Regions from separate parts of the Homo sapiens genome. Here regions 1, 3 and 4 are each linked to region 2. The links are contacts of gene promoters, found by promoter capture Hi-C in blood cells and fetal thymus (Javierre and others, 2016). All regions are on one chromosome and are shown on one strand. The core of a region is centred on a gene start or on the middle of the fragment in contact, and the rest is flanking DNA. Distances in the headings are between cores, read along the strand shown. Region 1 holds the start of NFXL1 (nuclear transcription factor, X-box binding like 1). Region 2 holds the start of DANCR (differentiation antagonizing non-protein coding RNA). Region 3 holds the start of EXOC1 (exocyst complex component 1). Region 4 holds the start of SRP72 (signal recognition particle 72).

What was found. The method cuts DNA at HindIII sites, captures the fragments that hold promoters and counts their contacts. A CHiCAGO score of 5 or more calls a contact.
Region 1: the fragment with the promoter of NFXL1 here is called in contact with the fragment with the promoter of DANCR in region 2 in 1 of 17 cell types (activated CD4 T cells); the score reaches 5.4 in activated CD4 T cells.
Region 3: a contact is called between the fragment with the promoter of EXOC1 here and the fragment with the promoter of DANCR in region 2, in 4 of 17 cell types (activated CD4 T cells, naive CD8 T cells, total CD4 T cells and 1 more). The highest score is 6.1, in activated CD4 T cells.
Region 4: a contact is called between the fragment with the promoter of SRP72 here and the fragment with the promoter of DANCR in region 2, in 1 of 17 cell types (naive CD8 T cells). The highest score is 6.4, in naive CD8 T cells.

What each region holds. Positions count from the first base shown.
Region 1 is chr4:47,912,327-47,916,651 of GRCh38, forward strand. NFXL1 (nuclear transcription factor, X-box binding like 1) reads right to left here and starts at 2,257. Exons shown (of 23, transcript NM_001278624.2): 1 at 2,039-2,257; 2 at 1,643-1,879. The coding sequence starts at 1,877. LOC101927157 (a long non-coding RNA gene) reads left to right here and starts at 1,901. Exons shown (of 3, transcript NR_125879.1): 1 at 1,901-2,378. RefSeq lists enhancers at 1,125-1,811, 1,812-2,497, 2,008-2,237. The HindIII fragment of the contact is 5,032 bases long and covers 1,869-4,325 here.
Region 2 is chr4:52,711,089-52,715,024 of GRCh38, forward strand. DANCR (differentiation antagonizing non-protein coding RNA) reads left to right here and starts at 1,306. Exons shown (of 5, transcript NR_145129.1): 1 at 1,306-1,439; 2 at 1,736-1,871; 3 at 2,406-2,454; 4 at 3,111-3,150. MIR4449 (microRNA 4449) reads left to right here and starts at 1,594; the gene lies at 1,594-1,659. It overlaps SNORA26 (small nucleolar RNA, H/ACA box 26), which reads left to right and starts at 2,161; the gene lies at 2,161-2,282. RefSeq lists silencers at 1,112-1,945, 1,120-1,689 and an enhancer at 1,940-1,989. The HindIII fragment of the contact is 6,853 bases long and covers 889-3,936 here.
Region 3 is chr4:55,851,921-55,855,769 of GRCh38, forward strand. EXOC1 (exocyst complex component 1) reads left to right here and starts at 1,728. Exons shown (of 19, transcript NM_001024924.2): 1 at 1,728-2,033. RefSeq lists a silencer at 1,520-1,619. The HindIII fragment of the contact is 2,625 bases long and covers 361-2,985 here.
Region 4 is chr4:56,466,100-56,470,150 of GRCh38, forward strand. SRP72 (signal recognition particle 72) reads left to right here and starts at 1,518. Exons shown (of 19, transcript NM_006947.4): 1 at 1,518-1,645; 2 at 3,554-3,674. The coding sequence starts at 1,537. LOC124900706 (a long non-coding RNA gene) reads right to left here and starts at 1,459. Exons shown (of 2, transcript XR_007058126.1): 1 at 993-1,459. RefSeq lists an enhancer at 1,363-1,572. The HindIII fragment of the contact is 5,513 bases long and covers 1-3,140 here.

The DNA.
Region 1 (4,325 bases), core at 1,007-3,506, 4.8 Mb before region 2:
CCTGATAAATGTATTCACCTAACATCATCTCAAAGTAAAGAGAAGCTGACAAGACAACCTTCTCACGTATTATTTCTTACAGCCAAATCTCAACTGTCCAGGTAGAGAATGCTTGTTTTCTTTTTCTTTTCTTTCTTTTTTTTTTTTTTTTGAGACGGAGTCTTGCTCTGTCGCCCAGGCTGGAGTGCAGTGGGGCAATCTCGGCTACTGCAAGCTCCGCCTCCCGGGCTCACGCCATTCTCCTTCCTCAGCCTCCCGAGTAGCTGGGACTACAGGCGCCTGCCACCCCGCCCGGCTAATTTTTTGTATTTTTAGTAGAGACGGGGTTTCACCCTGTTAGCCAGGATGGTCTCCATCTCCTGACCTCATGATCTGCCCGCCTCGGCCTCCCAAAGTGCTGGGATTACAGGCTTGAGCCACCGCGCCCGGACAGAATGCTTGTTTTCCTTCTACCCACGAGATGGAGACCATCCTGGCTAACACGGTGAAACCCCGTCTCTACTAAAAAAAAAAAACCAAAGAACAAAAAACAAAACATTAGCCAGGCGTGGTGGCAGGCGCCTGTAGTCCCAGCTACTCGGGAGGCTGAGGCCGGAGAACGGCCTGAACCCAGGAGGCAGAGCTTGCAGTGAGCCGAGATTGCGCCACTGCACTCCAGCCTGGGCGACCAGCGAGACTCTGTCTCAAAAAAAAAAAAAAAAAAAAAAAGTTTACCAAACCTGTTCACACGTCTCCATATTGTATACCTTATCATCACGGCCATTAACTGCATGCTAAGAGAATACCACCTACCTTTCAAATTAGCCTAGGAGAAAAATCATTCAAGATACTCAATTCTGCTCCACACCCCCCAAAAAAATGTATCCTGAAATGCATTCCAAACACAAAAATAAAATGATTTCAGGGATTATTCCCTCGGCCCCATGCACAATTGTGTGTAAGTCCTCCCTGGCTCCACGAAAACATGGTCTTGGATGAAAAGTATTGATATATCGGAGGCAACACCAGATATGTCCACAGAAGGACATGGAATTTGTAAATAGGAACTACAGTCAAGGAAGGTATCAAAAGCTCAAGTGCTTACAAGGAATAAGACAAGTCAAGAAACAAAGGCAAAGGTAAAGATGACAAATGACACCTGGCTCCAGAAATGAGAGAGAATGTGAGATGGAATGCCCAAGTCCAATCTAAATGGGATTTCTGTGACTCAGCCGAGCTGACTGTTGCCATGCACAAAGATAACTAAAGCCACAAGGTTGTTAACCAGATTTTTAAAAACGACAAACAACCGCTGACAATCAATCCACATTTAAAACTCTGTGTTAACCAAACAACATTATAGACCAAATCAGAACACCGGGCCACAATTTACAACTGATGGTCTGGAGATTCAAGTAGGCAAGAGTGGAGGGAAGTAACAAAGGTAATACCACCTAAAATTAAGATGAAAGAGGTGCGATGGAAATCTACCTAGAGTGCCGAAAAGAGCAGCCACCCGAAAGGCTGGAGAAGTGGGCCCGATAACAAACTCCCGAACGAGGGGAAAAGCAGTGAAAGAAAGAAGGCGAGGGCGGAGGCGGTCCTGACTAGTAACTGCCTTAGGAGGCATCCAGGTGAGCACGCGGGCGGGAGCCATTCTCACCGCTGGCTGCGGTAGTCTGCAGGGCTTGGGATCCTGCGGGGCTGTGCCTGCTCCCTGCAGCCGCCGTGGTCGCGACTCCTCCGGGACTGGTGCCAGAAGGAACTGCGCCCACCGACCCCTTCTCTCGCCCTCCTCCGGCGCCGCGGAGATGGACTCCATTTCCTGAGGGGGCGGCAGTGGCCCGTCCCCGGGATCGGCCTCGGCCACCGGCCACCTGGCGCCAGGAAGCTTCCATCCCTGCAAAGGAGAAAAAAAAAAAAAAGAGTGGAAGGAGGTGAGCGCAGCGAGGACCGAGGCGAAGGAGGGTCAGTGCGGAAACCCGGTGTGAGGGGCCGAGTGAGGAAGGTTCCTGCAGGGCGGCGACCGGGTTTTAGGAGGTCGCGGCCCTGCCTTTACCGGAGGGCGAGTCCCCGCCAAGCCCGGGCTTTGGAGATGGACCGAAGAGGGGAGGGAGGACTAGGTACAGAAATAAACCGCGGAGCAAGAAGCACACAGTGCCGAAGACAGAAAGCCGGAGGAGAAGTCGAAACCGCCTCCTCAGCCTCTGCGGGAGCGTGGTAGGGGAAGAGTCACAGACTGACCCTGCGTCTCCCGCCGGGAACCAACTGCAGTGGTACACCCCACGGAAAGCTACGTCTCCTTACCGACTGCGCACGCCCCCAACAGACTACAACTCCCAGAAGCCCCCGCCCGCGTTCCGGCGACTGCGTGGCAGCACGGGCCGCTTCCTTATCCGGTAAAGTGCGGGGGTTGGGTGGGAGGGAAACCCCAAGCGCCTGCGCTGGCCCGAACAGGCCTTTGGGAACTACAACTCCCGGCGTGCTCTGGGGCTAGGGAGGGGTCGAAGGTCATAGGGGCGCGTGGTGGTGGAGGCGGGCGGGTCCGGAGGGTTTCGTGACCCCACAATTTGCTTCTGCTTCTGCAAGACTGCCCTAAACTCACCTGGGTATGAGGATTACATGGCTCTGTCCCTAATTGGCTCTCTGCCATCTTTTATTAGCCTTGCCTTTGAGCTTGCGGATGACAGGAGGTGTCAATGTAAAATAATCAAAAGCGCGAAGTTTGAGGATAGCCTACCTAGAAACACCGACTCCAAGGAAGGAGTCAGCGTTCCGAAGTAGAGATTTAAGATTTCACTTATATAGGCAGAAACTGAGAGGTTTTTTAGCAGGATTACAGCATTTTCTCATACAAGGTTAGAGAATAGTTACAACAATTTGATTATAGACAGTGTTTCTTTTTGGGAAGTGTACATTTAACATTTTTCATAAAGGATTTTCTGTCATCTGGTCTAAGCAAACCGGGGCAACAAAGCAGAAGTTAATCTATAAGGATCATTAAGAAGGCAGGAAGTTTTTGTCCTTAACTTCGTTTAATTCTCTCTAGCCATTGTATAGAACAAGAAAAATAAGAAAGCAAGTTAATCTATAATCTGAGAAACAGAAGTTGTAACCACGTGTAACTCAGATGACAGTCACATCTCTCTCCAGGCTTAGTGAGTTTTAGGCTCCAACAACCTTTAAACTATTTATTTTCATAGGGAAGTCTCACTAACAGGAAAGGCACTTACATTGAAAACGCTTTGAGGTTGGCCACTGTGAAGGAGGGAAATTCGGGGGAGAGTTGCAGGAAAGTGGCTTGAGTAGTAAAAGTACCCTTCTAAAATGCTAGAGCCAATGTAGAAAATAAATCTAAAGCCTGTTATTGTCATAGTCCTTTGTAGTGTGCAATGAGCTTTCCCTGGGACATGCTAATTTTTACCTTCACAGCATCTCCCTAAAGTAGATTTTGTTAAGGAAAATAGTTGAGGGCCAGGACCTAAATCTTATGATTTTGCTGAGTTTTCCAATAAGATACATGTGCATATATACTGACAGGTAGATTGCAAAAATTCATTCTGGGGTCTGTCTGGGATTGAGAAACATATTGATGGCTTATTGTACAGTCCTTCAACTTAGTTAATTCTTCTATTTTAACCATAAATTTCTATTATAATATTTAGATAGCATTTATTAGATGTCAGGCACTGTTTAAAGTGTTTTACGTTATGTATTAACTAATTTGGTACTCACAGTAACCGTGTTTATTATCCCCGTTTTACAACTGAGAACACTGAGGCACAGAGAGATTAAGCAATTTGCCCTTGATCATACAGCTAGGAAGTAGTGAAGCCAAGATTCAATCCTAAGTAGTCTAGTATTAGAAACCATGCTTTTAATGTCTTAAACATAGATATTGCAGAATTGCCTGTACATTAACCAAACTCAAAAATGACATCCCATGGCCAGGCATGGTGGCTCACGCCTGTAATCCTAGTACTTTGGGATGCCAAGGCGGGTGGATCACCTTAGGTCAGGAGTTTGAGGCAAGCCTGGCCAACATGGCGAAACCCTGTCTCTATTAAACATACAAAAATTAGCTGGGCATGGTGGTGGGTGCCTATAATCACAGCTACTAGGGAGGCTGAGGCAGGAGAATTGTTTGAACCCAGGGGGCGGAGGTTGTAATGAGCCAAGATCGCGCCACTTCACTCCAGCCTGGGCAAAAGAGCAAAACTCCGTCTCAGAAAAATGAAAAGAAGAAAAGAAATAACATCTCTGAGAATGATATAACTTCATTGGCTAGAAACTAACAGGTGCACAGCAACTCTCTTAATGCTGCACTTGTATAAGAACTGTAAGTT
Region 2 (3,936 bases), core at 56-2,555:
TCACAAATACAAAAATTAACCAGGCATGGTGGTGCATGCCTGTAATCCCAACTACCCGGGAGGCCGAGACGAGAATAGTTTGAACTTGGGAGGTGGAGGCTGCAGTGAGCCAAGATCGTGCCACTATACTCCAGTCTGGGCAACAGAGCGAGACTCCATCTCAAAAACAAAACAAAACAAAAAAACTCTTCCAGGGTTTCCTGCATGGTCTGGCCCCAAGCCATTCTCATCTCAGGCCACTCTGCTCCTTAAGTTCCATTTCTGGGAGTCCTTAAACAGGTAAAGCCCTTTCCTGTTTTATCTTGGGGCTCTGGACGAGTTGTTCTTTCTGTTTACAAAGCCACACCCCACCAGAGCTGCCTGTCTTGATCTGTTAACCAAGTGTAGGCTATTTTTTGGTTTCCCTTCCTGCTCCACCCCCAACACCTGGGGAAAGGCTAGGTAGCATGTTGTTTGAGGGGCTCTGCCTTCAGGCTGCTTGAGTTCAAATCCTGGATCTACCACTGGCTAGCTGCTCTGTGACTTTGGGCAAGTTACATAACATAATTATTTCCCCATCTATAATTTGGAGATGATTAAATATATTTTGAGGATTAGATTTGTTAGCAGATGGTAAGTACGTGAAACAGCAATAGAAGTTCTCCTTTTAGCATATACTCCAATTTTCTTCTACTTATTTGTTTGCCAAGTTTGAGCCTGTTACCTTGAGATTGCTATGGTTGCCTTCTCAACCTCCCCAACTCCTACCCTCCAGCTGATTATGGTCTACTTATTGGACTCTGTAAATGAATAAAGAGGGAGCATGAGGAAAGGAGGTAGTCCTTCTAGCTTTAGGAGAGGCCACGGGAGTGAGCTTGTTGAACAAGACATGGTCGTGGCTTCTCTTTAAGCTTACGGTTTAGGCGGACACAGATGATGAACACACACCGGATTAGTGTGGCTTTAAGAAAGGGAATCCCAGGGCCTTAGGCCAACCCTGGAGTAACCTCGATGCCCTCTCCAGAAGGGCACCCGAGGAAGGGTCTAGGGCCCAAGAGCACCAAAATCACCAACGCCGGGGATTGGTAGGTAGCCTGAAAAATCTAATTCAGAGAAGGATGCTCCGCGCGCAGACATGGCTTATCCCCGTGCTACTGCATGAGCCACACCTAGGCCGGCCCCGGACACCGACAGCCAATGGCCGGGCCCGTCCCGCCCCATCCGGGATTGGCTGTGCGTGCCGCGGCCCTCCACCCCGCCCCGCTCAGGATCTTCCCGGGATTGGCTGAGCTACCCGACCTCTCCAGGGGATCGGCTGCGCGCCCCGCCCTTGCCCAGAGTCTTCCCGGGATTGGCTGCGGGCCTCGCGACCCTCCTGCTTCCCTCCCCGCCCCGCGCCGCCTCTCTGGTTTGTGCGCCCGTCGCAGGTCGCAGGCCTCTTTGTCAGCTGGAGTTGCGCGGTGAGTGCATCTCCAGTCTTCGGCTTTCGGTCTCCCGCGGGGAGGGCGCCCGGCCGGCCCGTGGGTCCGATCAGGGGCTGGGCTCGCCCGGTGTCCCCACGAGCTTTGCCCGCCTCGAGCTCCTCTGCTCCCGGCGGCCAGAACGGAGGGGTAGAGCAGCCCTCGGCGGCCCGGGGGGCGGGCGGCGGTGCCCGTCCCGGGGCTGCGCGAGGCACAGGCGCCGCGCCCAGCGGAACAGCCGGAGGTTCCCGGCGCAGGTCTGGGCACCGTAACAATTTTGCGCTTTGCTTCCCCAGGGCTGACGCGCCACTATGTAGCGGGTTTCGGGCGGGCCACGCGTGCGGGACAGGAACCCAACCCCAGCCGACCTTGAGCTCCAGGAGTTCGTCTCTTACGTCTGCGGAAGTGCAGCTGCCTCAGTTCTTAGCGCAGGTATGTTCCTAGCCTTGAGCGGGGTGGGGGAAGGAATGAGTCAGCCTGGAGCACGTGGCCAGTGGGACCGGAGGGTTCCCCGGCGTCTGTTTGTCGCCAAGGTCCGAATCCGGCTCCCCTTAACTGGAAGGAAACATCCATGTAGGGGCTCACCAAACAAAACAGCTGTGTTTCTAGTGTGGTTTCAGACTTAGAGAAGCAGAGATCCACGAGGTATTGAGAGCAACGCGGAAAATAGTAGTGAACCCTGTAAAAATCAAAGAAAAAAAATCACAAAGCACCCTTTCCTGTGCCCTTTTAAGGTTGACCCAGTGCTTTAAGAGGCTAACACAGAAGGGTAAAGTAAGTCTCCATAAAACCCAGAGAAGAGACTGGAAAGCTCCTCTTTGGATCCTGTCTGGAGTCACAACTGAACCAGAAAAAGTTTCGTTACAACTTGAGCGCCTTTGTGATTTTCTTTACAGTTTATAGAACAAGCAATACATTTCAGTTTTCTTTGGTTAAAACGTCATTTTAAAACTTTTCTTTCTATAGGTTGACAACTACAGGCACAAGCCATTGAAGCTGGAATGTCCTGTTGCTGGTATTTCAATTGACTTAAGCCAACTATCCCTTCAGTTACAATAGGAAAGTGCCTCTAATAAGGCCAAATATGCGTACTAACTTGTAGCAACCACGTGTCCGTGCAGTGCCACAGGAGCTAGAGCAGTGACAATGCTGGTGGCAACAGGGCAGTGTAGCAGGTGCTTCATGTTCACCTTTTCAACCTTTTCATTTAATTGTCACAACTCGGAGGTGGATTCTGTTAGGGACAGGCTGCCCCAGGACCACTCCGCCCCCGCTAACTCAATGCAGCTGACCCTTACCCTGAATACTCTGCAGCTGCATTCCTGAACCGTTATCTAGGCGCTATAGCAAGGTCACCAGACTTGCTACACCGAAGCCCTCTGGGTGGCACGGGGGAGGTCATGAGAAACGTGGATTACACCCCCTTGTAAATTCCTATTTTCACAAGATAATATATTGTAAGCCGGTCATGAGATTATATGTGGTAAAGTTAATTGACTAACAACCCCAGGGTCTCTCTCCCCCATATAAACCCCTCATTTTGTAAGCTCAGGGCTGCCACCTCCGACTGGTGGAGAAGCCTGGCAGGTTAATAAACTTACTTGGCCTGACCTTGGGTCTCTTGTCTTTTCTCTCGGCTAACCTTACAGATTCTATTCTCCCATTTCACAGGTAAAGAAATGGATTAGTGATAACTCAAGTTTCATCACCTGTGAGTATCTCTGAATGAGAGGCTTCACATGTATAACTTTTAGGCAATGTGACTTCTGGAAAGTCACTTGTCTCTTGAGATTTGGTGTCCTGGTGTAACAGTTAAGAATTATTTCAACCAAACTAGGAAAGGACCACAGTCGAGCTGTTAAGAATATAAACTCTTCATATTATTTCATTGCATTGAGCCTAAGAAGGTTCACAAAATTTGGCACAGAAGGAGTATCTGTCAGCATATTCTGTTTTTTTGTGTGTGTCTATGTAGCAAGTATTAATATTTATCTTGGAGTCATTCTTAATTCATAGCATTGTTCTTACCTTTTTATCTAAACTTTTATGTTCCATATTGTAAAGTCTAGCCTCATAAATTTAGGTAATTGCTCACAAGTTTGGATAATGTTGAATTGTAATCCCGATGTTAGAGGAGGGGCCTGGTGGGACGTGATTGGATGAAAAGGGTGGATTTCCCTCTTGCTGTTCCTTGTGATAGTGAGTTCTCATGAGATCTGGTTGTTTAGATGTGTAGTGTGGCTGGGGCAGTGGCTCATGCCTGTAATCCCAGCACTTGGGAAGGCCAAGGCAGGGGGATCACTTGAGGTCAGGAGTTAAGACTATCTTGGGCAACATAGTAAGACCTCGTCTCTACAAAAAATGAGGCAGAAGGATTGCTTGAGCCCAAGAGGTTGAGACTGCACTGAGCCATGATCTTGTCACCGTGCTCCAGCCTGAAAAGAAAAATTAATAAAAATAAAGGTTATGCAATTGTGCACATGTTATCTCAAGGCAG
Region 3 (3,849 bases), core at 478-2,977, 3.1 Mb after region 2:
AGCACACAGGCAGATCAGAGTGCTGCAAGATATGGACACCTTCTATGTCCTTCTGTGCAACTTAGGCCATGACTTCAAATCCCTTCAGCCTATTATTCTAACCACTGCTGCAGCAACCTGCTCGGAGCAGGTTTGATGACCTTTGAACAAGTGCGAAATACCAGCACCTCTCCTCTCACTTCCTGCCCCAGCATGTCTCTGATGTGGGAGTCAGCTTGGCATTCACAACTGTGCGATTTGTAAGTGTGAAGTAGTTAATGCCCAAGGGCATTAACCTTCGATCAAAGAGGACAGGAGCCGACATACAAATGCTTCCTCCGTTCTTTCCTTTAATGGACAGTTCTGAGACTCATTTCATAAAGCTTCTTAGAAGGTCCTAAGGGACTAAGAAAACATTCAAATATGGTGATGACCAACTCAGTAACACATTCTTATACTGCATCTCCCTTTTTGTTTTGTCTTCTTCCTCTTCCCTCATTTTGCTCCCTGGGATCAAATTTCCAAATAAACTATTGCATATAAGTGTCACTTTGCAGGGAATCCAAGAGGAGAGAGGATAATTTAATTTTTGGACACACAAGTTTGAGGTGTCTATAAGACATCCAAGTGGAAATGTCAGGCGATGGGCAGTATATACACAAATCTTGAGGTTCAAGAAAGAGATCTAGGCTTCTGAAATGCAATTCATTTCCCAACTTTGAGGAGGGCTATAAACATACAGGTAAATAAAAGAAAGATAATAGGACCAAAAAACACATGCAATTGTCATAGAGTGTCCACAGTAAGCATTCCGGTGCCAAGCAGGAAAGGGTCTTTGTAAAGATATAACCAGATCCTGCTCTTAAAAGGGAAGTCATTTGATGAAAGTGAAAAGTATTCTAACTACTGTTTGCTCATTTAAATTTCTAGCACATTTATCTGATCTGTACCTCTCTTTGGTCACTTATTTTGTGTCCTATTTTATATATATTTGTACCTACACCTTGTCTAGTCCTACCACACTGTGAACTCCTTTAGGTTAAGATTCATGCCTGAATCACCTCTGTACCTGGAATCAAAGTGCCTAGCATTAAAAAAAAAAGGTGCCAGGAATATTGAATAAATAAAACACCTACCTGCAACCAGCAACATTGGCATCATTTATGCATCCCAAACTTAAATATGCATAAGCATCATCTTGCTAAGATGCAGATTCTGATTCAGTAGATCTGAAGTGAGCCAGAGAGGCTGCATTTCCTAAAAAGCCCCCAGATGATACCCAAGCAGCTGATCCACGGACCACACTTTGAGTATCAAGGTCATGAGGACAATGGTTCTTGACCTTAGCTGCATATGAGAATCATCTGGGAAGATATTAAAAGTACTGATGTCTGGGTCCCACCCGCAGGGATTCTGATTTAACTCATTTAAGCTCTCCAAAGTTTAAGTAGCAAAGATCTAGAGTTAATAGAGCTTTACGTATGAAAAAAGAAAACATTTAATCGAATTTCTTCTTAAATGAATTGCTGCAAATATCTGAATAAATAACTCTTAATCCCCAACTCCCAAGTCAGTTTCTGTGCCACAAAGGCCCCGCCCCTGCCCTTCCCTGACACGCCCCTCCAATGAGGCCTTGTTCCGCCTGGCCACGCCCGTCGGTTGGCGCCCCGCCCCTCCGCGTCTATTGGCCGCTCCCTTTTTCTCCCATCGCTGCTTCTTCCTTCTCTACGCGGTCAACTTCCGGCGCGGAGTTTGTCACGTGCCCGGATATAGGAAGTGTTGGGGGAACGGCCGCTTCCCGTTCAACGCTTTATTGAGGGGCGTATCCTAGTGGCCCCCATCCGGTCTCCGTTTTGGAAGACCCGCCTCGGCACAGCCAGGCTCAGTCCGGCCTTGCGGTAAGCCTTCGGCCGCGGCTGCCCGGTAGTCCCGGCGGCGGCGGACAGACGAGCTGACAGGCACCAGGGTCTAAGGCGGCTCCTCAGTCCGGCTGCTGTCTCCACGCCTGGGGTCGGGCACCGCTCCTTCTGACCTTCCTTTCCCCGTTTGTCCCGGTAAGACGAAGTTTGGTCAGAGCATTCTCCAGTCCCTTGTCCTCGGGTCTAGGAGAATGCGGAGCTGGGAGGGCAGTCCTCACGGGCCCCATTACGGTTCCGCCCATCGGAACCAGATTTTGTTTGTGCAAAATGACCCTGATCGTAAGCTCTTTGGCGTGGTCCAGGAGAGGAGAGCGTGACTGTGCCTTCCTCTTTGTCCAAATTCACATCCCGGCCCCCCAACCCCAACTCCCCCCCACCCCCCGCCAAATCTCTTAAGTGTATTTCTCTATTTCCTTGCACAGTTATATCTTCTAGATGGCAATGCTTCATGCATTAATATATCTCAGCAGCATACAGGGCCCAATGCACACGGGCACTCACACTGACAGGCTATTTGTCACACAGTGTGGTGGTCCAACTGAGCTGAAGGAAACAACCAGTACAGAGTAAGCAGTGGATGGCTGCCTTTGGAACGTGGTCAGATATGGGTTCTCAGACCTGGAGAATAATTTTAGAGGACCTCTAGGGATTTATTTACTGACTTTCAGAAAAGTACCGTAAAGACTGAAGAGTTAATCACTCGACTCTTAGGATGTAAATGCCATAGAAACACCCGGCTTCAGGTCTTCATAAACATATCTGTCATGTTGACTACTGTAACCTAGAATAGTGTCTGCCACCTAATAAGCATGAGTATTTGCTGAATGAATGAAGAGTCACATACTGCTTTTCATTATGGCTAACTCCTTTATGAGGTATGCCCAATCCTGTCTTGTTTTGCCTCTTACTGTACACTCAGTTGCTTTTAGCCAGAGAAGGAGTATGTGGTAAACGTTGGTCCCTATTATTCATTTGACCAGTTTTTACTATTCAGTTCTAATTACCTTAATAGATATTTAAGTATCCACTAAACACAAAACTATGATGAACATCCCTCCCTTCTTTAAGAGAATTCTTGAGATAGAGAAGCTTATGATTTAATGAGCCCATTAGACGGCAAATGCAGTAAGTGCTGTAGAAATTTAGAGGAGAGATCACTTTGGATTAAGATCTTCATTGAATCAACTTCATGTAAACCATGAAGTGTAATTAGGGTTTGGATAGGGCGGAGATGATATTCCTTACATGGAAAGTACCAAAGTGAAGATTTGATGTCCAAAATGAACAGAGTGTTTGGAGTGGAATGTTTTTGAGAACATTAGGAAAACGTTGAGTAAAAGCGTGATGTGATACAAACTGTCTTTTAAAATTATCTTGTTGTTCAGGGTTGTGGGACCTTGCAAAGAGAACCAGATTTTGTAGGGTTAAGTAAAGTTGATATGAACCTGGGTCAGTATATTTGCAGTGCGAAAAGAAAGGAATAAATTACATGTAGATGGGGGGAAATCGCAGAATGTGGTAGCAGATTTCATGTTGATAAGGGAATAGGGAAGCAAATATGGTAGATTTTGAACCTGGACATTTGCTTATAGATGTGAAAGTTAGGAAAGGGGAATCTTGGAGGAGCTATAGCTGTCATGTTAGTGAATTTAAGCATTTGTTAAATGCCTAGTTTGTCAAGTTCTAGGAATACAAAGATGATTAAGACATGGTCCTACTTTTAATAGGGGATAAAATACAGCTAGCTAGAAAATACAATTCATAAATGCCGTATTTATGAAGTAGAGGGGAAGTGTTAGAGAGGTAGAAATTACTCTTTGCGTGGGGCGGCTGCAGGGAGGGGGCTACTTTACAGAAAAGATGACATTTTAGCACAATCTTGAGGGATGAATTGTAATTTCCTAGGGAGAAGAGAATTCTAGGAAAAGAAGGTTGCATGAACAAAAGCCCA
Region 4 (4,051 bases), core at 268-2,767, 3.8 Mb after region 2:
ACAAGGGTTGGGGACCCCTGTTCTAAGAGGATGCAACCAGAAGGCTGCCCAGTCTGCAAGATCAAATGTTTCCTCAAAGTAACTTTCAACGTATAACCAGAAAGACTGAAAGACAAAAAGTAGTTAGCAAGGCCGGGCACGGTGGCTTACGCCTGTAATCCCTGTACTTTGGGAGGCTGAGAGAGGGCGGATCACTTGAGGTCAGGAGTTTGAGACCAGCTTGGCCAACACAGTGAAACCCCATCTCTACTAAAAATTCAAAAATTAACCGGGCGTGGTGGCTCATGCTACTTGGGAGGCTGAGGCAAAAGAATCGCTTTAACCCAGGAGGTGGAGATTGCAGTGAGGTTCATCCTGGGTCACAGAGCTAGACTACGTCTCAAAAAAAAAAAAAAAAAAAAAAAAAAAAAGCTAGGTTCCTGAGGGACACAGGAAGTAGTAGAAGTTGTAAAGGTCATGACGAGATATGAGTCTGAAGAGCAGGCCATTCAATGAAATACAACATTCACATCAAGTGAATCACTCACATCGTCTTGGTGTGGTGGCTCATGCCTGTAATCCCAGCACTTGGGGAGGCTGTGGTGGGAGGATTGCTTGAGCCCAGGAGTTCCAGACCAGCTTGGGCAACACGGCAAGATCCCCGTCTCAAAAAAAAAAAAAAATCACTCACATCAAGTGTACCCAACAGATATCCATTCCCTTCGTACATCTGAACACATCTTGATATTAACGGTCGCAAGCAAACCCTAATATTTTATATCTCTAGAACAAATATAGTATCCCCATTTCACAATCGGGAAAACAGACTCCCAGAAGCTAAGTAACTTGTTTATTGTCAGACATCTAGTGAGTCGCAGAGCCAGGGAACTGACCACGGGCATTTTCACCCCATTACCCTTCCAGCTTATTGCCGACTGCTCCCGAAGGGAGCGAAAAGGACAGGCAAAGGGTTTCACCAAACCCTTTGTAATGGGAGATTCTTGCCTTCTTACCTTTCCTCACGTTTGCTTCTCTGCCAGAATGTCTTCCCGCACTTTCCCCAGAACCCAAGTTCTCCTAATCATCTTTCAAGATCCCTTTCCCTCAACCACAGATGAGCCGTGCCTATTTCTCCTTCAAATGACTCCCTATGGCTTCTAGTTGGTAGTCTTTTATTTACCACCTCATAGTCCTTTTATTTATATCCCATAAATGATCGTCCGGCCCCGCACCGTGGGACCAGGACGCTGCCTCGACCATGGCGGTCTCCTGGAAACAGGCTGCTTTGAGCCGAAACTGGTGACCGTTTCCCAACCCCGTCCAGGAGTCCGACGCCTCTTTTCTCCAGGCCAACTTCAAGTGAGGTGTATCAACTCTATCCGCACAAATTTCTTGCCACGAGAGCAGAAGATTATGATCTCTGATGCTGCCTTAGGGCTGAAGACACTCCCAACTCGGCGACGCTTAGCAATCATCGACTTCCTCCTCCTCTTGGCTGCCTCGGAGATCCTGTTCCGGGGCAGAGGTCTCCCCGCCCCGCCCCTCGTCTCCTCCAAGATGGCGAGCGGCGGCAGCGGGGGGGTGTCAGTACCTGCGCTGTGGAGTGAAGTGAACCGGTATGGCCAGAACGGCGACTTCACGCGCGCTCTCAAGACCGTCAATAAGAGTAAGTGTCGGGGTGGGCACTGGGGCGGGCCCAGGCCGGCTGGAGGATGCGGCCTGTTTCCGGCGCGCGAGACCACCTCGCGCGGGAGGCACGGGAAGGGGAGACCCCCGAAACCCCCCCGTCTATTGTCCGCCCGGCTCGGGCCCTAGCGCCCGGAAGACGCAGGTCTCACTCCTCGGCTTCACCAGGCCAGCCTGGGGTCCCTGGTTGCTTACAGCCACGTGTACTTCTCTTTTTACCCTCCGCGGGAAGCGAGGGAAGGTTTTAAAGAGACCGCAGCTCCCGGAGTCCATTTCAAACTGTTTTCTTATTTGACTCCTTTGCTGCTTTATTTCACAAATATTCCAAAGTGCCTCCTTTTCTTCTTCGTCTTGAGCGCAGTGATCAGGACTCTATTGCTGAGGGAGCTTGTTCTCTTTGGCCGCTAAAGGGGGAGGAACCTGCTTGGGACACGTAGTTTAGAGGCTGGTGCTAACCAGGTGGAAGCTGTACGGGTTCTACGGGGCGAGAGGAAAGGGCTGGATCTGGATGTCAGGCCTGTCATTCCCATAGATGAGATCTCTTCAGTGTTATTAAGTTAGGAAATATGTGTGTGGAAGCACCAACACTTGAAATAATGTCGGAAGAAAAGTTTGGCCTGTTTTTTTGCCCTGTAAGGGATGATTTCGGTTTTTACCGCCTTTGGTGTGAGGTTTAATTCATCATATTCTTTTGTTCCTTACTACATACCTGGAATATGGCCATGCTGCTTAATGTTCTCGGTGGTGCGCAGTTCTTCTCTACTGAAGATACAGCCTGTGCATGTTAGATTTGGAAATGTAATTACCAAGGCAGGGCTTAGCTGTTCAGAGTAGCAGTAACCTAAAAGGTGTGTCAGTAACATGCAAAGCTATCTAAGTAATTTTCAACACTCTAGTACTGGGTTAACGTGAAAAGTAGTGATTGTGCCCACAGTGCACTTTTGGTGATTTCAGACATTGAGGAAAATAGCTACGAATTAGAATTATTTGATCCCTAAATTTGTTTGAATTAACTCTAGCCTTCCAACCAGTACTGTATACTTAGTATAGTATTTTGCAGGAATTCTTTAATCAGCAAAGATTGTCAACTTGTTTACCAGTATGTTTTCTTAATTGGTAGAAATTCTTGTGATTCTTTGAGAATTGGACTTCTGTAGTTGCACAGGAGCAAGAGTAACTATGATCCTGGTCATTTTAACACCGAACAGTTGTTAGCGTTGAAACTTGCCACCTGAGTTCTTCCTTATACTTTGGTCATCTTAGTTGAAAAGGGGAAATTTTAATGATTTTTGGAAACGTTGCCAGCAAGATAAATTGCCTTTGTATTATACTTTATAAGATTTTTCCAAAATATTCATTTCATATTGTCAGTAACCTTATTAAATAGGTAATGCTTTTCTAATCATTTTGTAGCTAAGAAAACTGAGATTTGGCTGTTAAGTGATATGCCCAATACCTCAAAGCATTTAGTGGCAAGCTTGCACCAAACCTAGGTCATTTGCTTCCAAATTCTACCTGAACTTTTTCCCTGTGAAGTAATGAACTATGTAGAATGTAGCATGCATTTCAAGATGAAATATCTGGAGAAATTGCTTCTTTCTTCTTTATTTCACTGCACTTTTTTGGTACATGTATATTGGGAATCTTTATCTCATTGAAAATTTAATCTATAACTCTCCTTATTGTCACTTCTTAAGTTAAAAGCAAAGATTAGTTGTTTTCTGGGTTTGTTTTGTTTTGTTGCTGTTTCTTCCAGTTGTTCTGACCAATTATTTCTGTTGCAATAAAAGTAGAAATTTAGCTTTCGGAGAGACAGGGTGGGAAAATTTAGTAAAAATGTGAAAAGGAAATGGATTTAAAAATGACTTTTCCTAAAATTGTTCTCTAGTACTACAGATCAACAAAGATGACGTAACTGCCCTGCATTGTAAAGTGGTATGCCTTATCCAGAATGGAAGTTTCAAGGAAGCTTTGAATGTCATCAATACTCACACCAAAGTGTTAGCCAAGTAAGTGATTCAGTTAGTTGCTTGTACAGTTATTAGAAACACTTACTATAGCTATAATCTCTTCCATGTTTTTTCCCAACTATTTGCTGATTTTTTTTAACGTTTTTTTCCTTCCTTTTTTTCCCCCCTTTTGCTTGTCAATAATGTTTCTGAACTGGAAGGAATACTAGTAACTTCTGTTTTTTTCAGCCTTAGAGAGTTTTTTTTTTTTTTTTTAACCACTGTGTTTCCTTTGAACCGCTAAGGAGGTGAACCATAGAGAGTTGTGGGGCATAATTATGAGTCGTTGGAGGATGTAGCAAGAATAACTCAGTCGAAGTTTCTTTACTGTTATACCTAGGCTCCAAAAAAATATGTATTGAAATTAAGTTTGAAGC